Regions from separate parts of the Homo sapiens genome. Here region 2 is linked to region 1. Evidence: promoter capture Hi-C in human tissues and cell types (Jung and others, 2019). All regions are on one chromosome and are shown on one strand. The core of a region is centred on a gene start or on the middle of the fragment in contact, and the rest is flanking DNA. Distances in the headings are between cores, read along the strand shown. Region 1 holds the start of ASB17 (ankyrin repeat and SOCS box containing 17). Region 2 overlaps LOC105378806 (a long non-coding RNA gene).

Evidence for each region. Contacts are between HindIII fragments. The study calls those that stand out against the background at their distance.
Region 2: a fragment that was not itself captured here is called in contact with the fragment with the promoter of ASB17 in region 1 in 1 of the 25 tissues and cell types used here (H1 embryonic stem cells).

What each region holds. Positions count from the first base shown.
Region 1 is chr1:75,930,895-75,933,682 of GRCh38, forward strand. It overlaps ASB17 (ankyrin repeat and SOCS box containing 17), which reads right to left and starts at 1,510. Exons shown (of 3, transcript NM_080868.3): 1 at 997-1,510. The coding sequence starts at 1,397. The HindIII fragment of the contact is 7,737 bases long and covers 1-2,487 here.
Region 2 is chr1:75,969,819-75,972,989 of GRCh38, forward strand. The region is part of intron 2 of LOC105378806 (a long non-coding RNA gene); the gene reads right to left. Among named protein-coding and RNA genes, the nearest start is that of ASB17, 39 kb to the left of the region's middle. The HindIII fragment of the contact is 4,750 bases long and covers 1-3,171 here.

The DNA.
Region 1 (2,788 bases), core at 260-2,759:
AATGGTTACTTAAAACACAAAGTACCATTTGGTAGTTTTGTTTATTGTTGTTTCCAAACTACAGCTATCAGTTCATGTACTTTAGTAATCATTAAGTAATGAAATCCAGTGGTTCTCCGATACCATAGGATGCACAATCAAGAAAAAACTCTGCTTTAGGCAGAATCTAAATTGGTTTAGTCTTTAACTGATCTTGTCCATTTTGTTTTTCATTGCATACATGCATTTATATTGCACCTAGTACAGACTTGCATACATAGTAATGTGATTAATAAATATTTTGCTGAATGAATGAACACATGAATGTTTTATTCAGATGAATATCTAAAACGAAAGAATAAATTAAAGTTAGTGCAAACTAGGTAACTTTAAATTCTATATTATGGACTCTAAAAAGAGGATACATTGGAGATTTGATTTTCATAAGATCCTCAGTAGTATGCATTAGGTAGATTGACATGTGAACACTATAAAAATTTGGTTCTATTATCGATAGCATCAGGTACTTGACCTTCATTGTGCTCAAATTTGGAGAATTTGGAGTCTAATTTATAAATGTTTAACACACAAATAGGGAACTATTGTGTTTAATAAGTATTACTATGTGAAGATGTGTGCATGTTCCCAATTGTACTTTGAAAGTCAGCTTATAAACATATATAAATATAAAACCATAGGATTCGCAGAAATAGGAGATCATAGTATTACACAACATAGTGTCTTTGTTTAGTTAGAGAAACATGTTGTTTAGCACTAACATGTAAGCTGTGTAGAGCAGAATCACTAATGATTTATTGGTACATAATAATTTACATATAAATAAAAATGGAATACATAATAAAAGAGTGAAGGAGTGAACACGTGGTCAAGCAATTAGGTGAGAATTCCTTACTTCACATATAGCCACTATACATGTGAGTTTTAGAAAAAAGAAGCACTCTACTCTCGTAAAGATAAATTTTCTTGTTCTATAGTGAAAACATATGAAATTATTACCTCCATATCAGTGCCAGGTTACAACTTCTGTCTTGAACATAGTCTTTTGTCTTCTTGAGAAGCAATTCCACAAAGTCAGGATTACCTTTTCTGGCAAAAACCCAGTACAGAATTGTATTCACACATATTTCAGTGAAGTCGAGGTTAAAACTTACTTCAAAACGGTATCCTGATTTTTCCACAAATGCAATGTAATCTGTGAGTAGTGCGTCAAAACCATCCAAGTCCACATACCTCAGAATTTTTGCCAGTGATCTGTAAATCCTTGGTTCGTAACAGTGATATCCCCACTGACCCAAAAACTGTAGGGAGGGTCTTTTAACAATTTTGTCAAGGAGATTGCAGAATATATTGCTTCTTGGACAAGAAGTCTTACCACATAATTTAGTAGATTTACTCATTGTTACTTATAGCAGCACTGTAGAAATAAAATCAGAGGTAAGCATACTGTAATCCTCCAGTTACATATTTTGACAATGTGGCAGGCTTTACTCCACAAACAGAAGTGCCCTTTAAACTGTAACCAGAAAAAATAAATATTACCATAAAGTACTGGATGACATCACAATAGGTGGAGATTCCTCCACAATAGGTAGAGGTCACCAGCATAGGTCAGAGGGGATATTGTATGTAACTGGTGACATTTGAAAGAGACATATTGGACAGAAATGACATACGTGAAAGCTAAGATACAATATATTTAATTTTCTAAGAATTCAGTTCAAGGTAGTCTGCCTGGTTTCTCAAGTTCTGCATGTTTCTTCAGTAGACTAAATAATGGTAATAAATACATTGATTATCCTTTGTAGGCTATTATGTAAGCAGACAATGATTGCTAGAGTGAATAAATTCAAGTGTTGTTCTCATGTTCTGCATGAATACTGTATGCTCTCACTTAATCCTCATTGATTATTTCCCCTATCTTGTAGTTGAGGAAATTGAGGCTTACACAGATAATTTTTTTGTTGTTTGAGACAGGGTCTCACCCTGTCACCCAGGCTGGAGTGCAGTGGTACGATCATGGCTCACTGCGGCCTTGACCTCCTGGGCTCAAGCTTTCTCTCACCTCAACTTCCCAAACAACTGGGACTACAGGCATGCACCGCCATGCCTGGCTAATTTTTGTATTTTTTATAGAAACAGAGTTATGCCATGTTGGCCAGGCTGGTCTTGAACTCCCGAGCTCAAGTGATCTCCCTGCCTCAGCCTCCCAAAGTGCTAGGATTACAGGCTTGAGGCACTGTGCCTGACTGAAGCTTACATAGGTTAAGTAACCTGCCAATATATTCATTCCCAAAGAGAAAGAATGTCATACAATATTAACCAAAATTTAAAGACTTTGTTTTAGATTTTTGTTGTTGAGACAGTGTCTTACTCTTTTGCCTTGGCTGGAGTGCAATGGTGCGATCTCGGCTTACTACAACCTCCACCTCCCAGGTTCAAGCAATTCTCCTGCCTCAGCCTCCTGAGTAGCTGGGATTACAGGTGCACACCACCACGCCCGGATAATTTTTGTATTTTAGTAGAGACAGGGTTTCACCATGTTGGCCAGGCTGGCCTCGAACTCCTGACCTCATGATCCGCCTGCCTTGACCTCCCAAAGTGTTGAGATTTCAGGCGTGAGCCACTGCATCTGACCTTTTTTTAGAATTTTAAATTTTACAGAAATTATTCCTCTATAAACCAGGCAGAATGTATACAATTTGAACATTAAAGGTACTTCAAGCTTGATATGGTGTCCTTGCCCCACTACAATAAAGGGGAAAGATGTTATGGTTGTTTTTATCATTAT
Region 2 (3,171 bases), core at 549-3,048, 39 kb after region 1:
AAAGCTGAGCAAGCTGGGCCTTGAGACGATGTTAAGGAAAGCCCTTGCAGATCTGCAAGCTGGAGAGTAATGTGTTGGCTATACTAACTTGTATTAGTCTGCTCAGGCTACCATGACAAAATACCATAGGCTGAGTGGCTTAAACAACAGAAGTTTATTTTCTCACAGTTCTGGAGGTTAGAAGTCTAAGATCAAAGTGCCATCAGGTTTGGGATCTGGTGTTGCAGCTCTTCCTAGCATGTATATTGCCACTGTCTCACTATCCTCACATGATCTTTTCTTTGTGTGTGTGCACAGAGAGATCTCTGAGAGCTCTTCCTTTTCTTATAAGGACCCCCATCCTATCTGTTTATGGATCCAGCCTTATGTTCTCATTTAATCTTAATTACCTTCATGAAGGCCCTATTCTAAATACAGTCACATTGAGGGTTAGGGCTTCAACAAATAAATTGTAGGGATCAAAATCCAGTGTATAGCACTACTTGAAGAAGGCTACTCTGGCATGAATTTGCAATGAATGGGAGAGGAAGTGAGACTAGAGTAAGGGAAGGCAGATAGGAGATGATAGTAATAAAAGAGGTGATGGATGACAGTGGCCTGTACTGATGCCCGGTAACTACATCTCATCACCCAAGTATCTGTGGCAATTTCATTTGGTGAACAAAAGGCAAACCTGCCTGAGCACTGTCTAAGGCTAGCAATGCGAAAAAAGGACTCCAGGCTCCTAAACTACCCCAACAACAACCACAGAGCCCCCAGTAATGCAAATTTTTCTCAGTTGGCTGCCAGGTAATTTGCCACATCTTTGAATTGGTTTATAGTTTACCTTCTCCAGATACACAGAAACTTCTTCCTTGATGATATTTTTTCCCTGCTTAGTCAAAAGCATGCAACTGACATGCAGTAGACATCATAGCCATTCTGACTGGTATATGTGATAGAGTTGTAGTTATCTGAGAATTAGACAGATACTGATTCATGTCATGTTTCATGTATTAGATTCTCATCTAATCAAAACATTGCAAAAACATCATCTCCTAAATATGAAATTACTCAGTGAATAAATCATAACAGGAAGCTTTCAGGCAAGCCATATTTAGGAAATGAAATTTAAGTAGGAGAAATTACAAAAGGGATAGGGCAAACAATTGCAGTTCTGAAAATAATCATTTACACTCTCCTAGTACTTGGTGTTGGAGAAGCAATGTGGCTAATAGAAGAGAAATGCAAATTGAGAGAGTCTACTCAATTAAGCAGGATATCATCCCCTGCGATTTACAAAAAATAAAATCTAACCTCCTTAGCATGGCATACGAAGCCTTTCAGGGTCTTTCCTCACCAGGTTGTTCTGCCTTGTATTCTTTCCTCACATGTTTCCCCTTCCTGGTATATCCTTTCCTTGTTTGCCTATTGGTCAAATTCATGTTTACTTCACAAGTTTTTGCTTAAGCATGACTTCCTCTCTGACAGCTTTTCCATCTTCTGTGCTTTACCACCCACTACATTAAGTTCTCTTTCCCTGCATTTCTATTGTACCCTGTTACGCTTCCATTGCAGTACATTATGAATGCACATACAGTTAATCCTTATTATTCACAGATTCCATATTTGTGAATTTTCCTACTTGCTAAAATTTATTTGTAACCCCTAAATTGATACTTGCATCACTTTCCTAGTCATTTGTAGACACACGTATGCATAATGGCAAAAATTTTATGTCACCTGACACACATTCCCAGCTGAGATCAAATTAAGGGACACTCTGTTTTCTTCCTTTAGCTCTCATACTATGAACATATATCTATTTTGTGGTCTGTTTGGCGCCATATTGTCACATTTTTGTGCTTTTCATTGGTGATTTCCCCATCTAGAATGGCCCCCAAGGATAGTGCTGAAGTGCTGGCTAGTGCGCCTAACCGCAAAAAGTCTCTGATGTGTCTTAAAAAGAACATGTGTGTTAGGTAAGCTTCACTTAGGCACGAAGTCTAATGCTGTTGGCTAGCATTGTATTCAATGTCAGTGAATCAAAAATATGTATTAAATAAGGTATCTTTAAACAGAATGCCACATAAAACAAGGTTACATACTGATCAGTGGACAAAACAAATTTTGTGACCAGAGGTTCACAGGAACTTAACCCCATGTTTCCCCTTGGAGCAGTGGTTCAATATTTGATAATTTAGCATTTGGAATGACTTTATAGAATATGATTCTCATGAATAATGAGAATAAACTATATTCATATATTTGTGTACCTATAAAATTCCTTGAGAAATGAAACTATCACCTTTGTGTACCTAACACTAGCATTATGGTTAATATAAGCACATGGTTGGTGCTTGATATTCTTGACAATAATACCAAGGGATATTTCAAACACTGATTTCATTGGCCATTACAGGTTCTTCCTTATGCCAGTCCACCAAGAATACCTGCTTAAAGGCCAGGTAATTACAAGTCCCTTTTAAATATTAGCTTGGGCATAAGCTCCTAAGAAATTGTTAATGGTCTTAAACCTTTATTGATTTAAAGGGATTGTGGCATTACTGAGTTGGGAGTTATGTAACTCTAGGAAAAGTCAAGACATTATCTAGTATACACAGACAGAAAGAGGCTACTTAAAACAGATTTGCTAAAGCAGTGGGTTTCAATGGTAGGGCCTAGGAATTTGTATTTTTAACAAGGACCCTAGTGATTCATATGTAAGATGTTAACAAAACACCATGAGAAACAGTGCTATCAGGTGTTCCTTACCTAGTTGTCTTCTTTGGGGATACCCAAAGCGATCTTTTTTTTTTTTTTTTTGAGATGGAGTCTCACTCTGTCGCCCAGGCTGGAGTGCAGTGGCTCGATCTCAGCTCACTGCAAGCTCCACCTCCCGGGTTCACGCCATTTTCCTGTCTCAGCCTCCCGAGTAGCTGGGACTACAGGCACCCGCCACCGCACCTGGCTAATTTTTTGTATTTTTAATAGAGACGGGGTTTCACGGTGTTAGCCAGGATGGTCTCAATCTCCTGACCTCGTGATCCGCCCGCCTCGGCCTCCTAAAGTGCTGGGATTACAGGCGTGAGCCACTGTGCCTGGCCAGGGATCTTTAACTCTGGTAATTTTTCAGAGAACTAAAGCATTTTTGTGATTCCATAAATTTTAAATATTTTACCATCTCTGTGC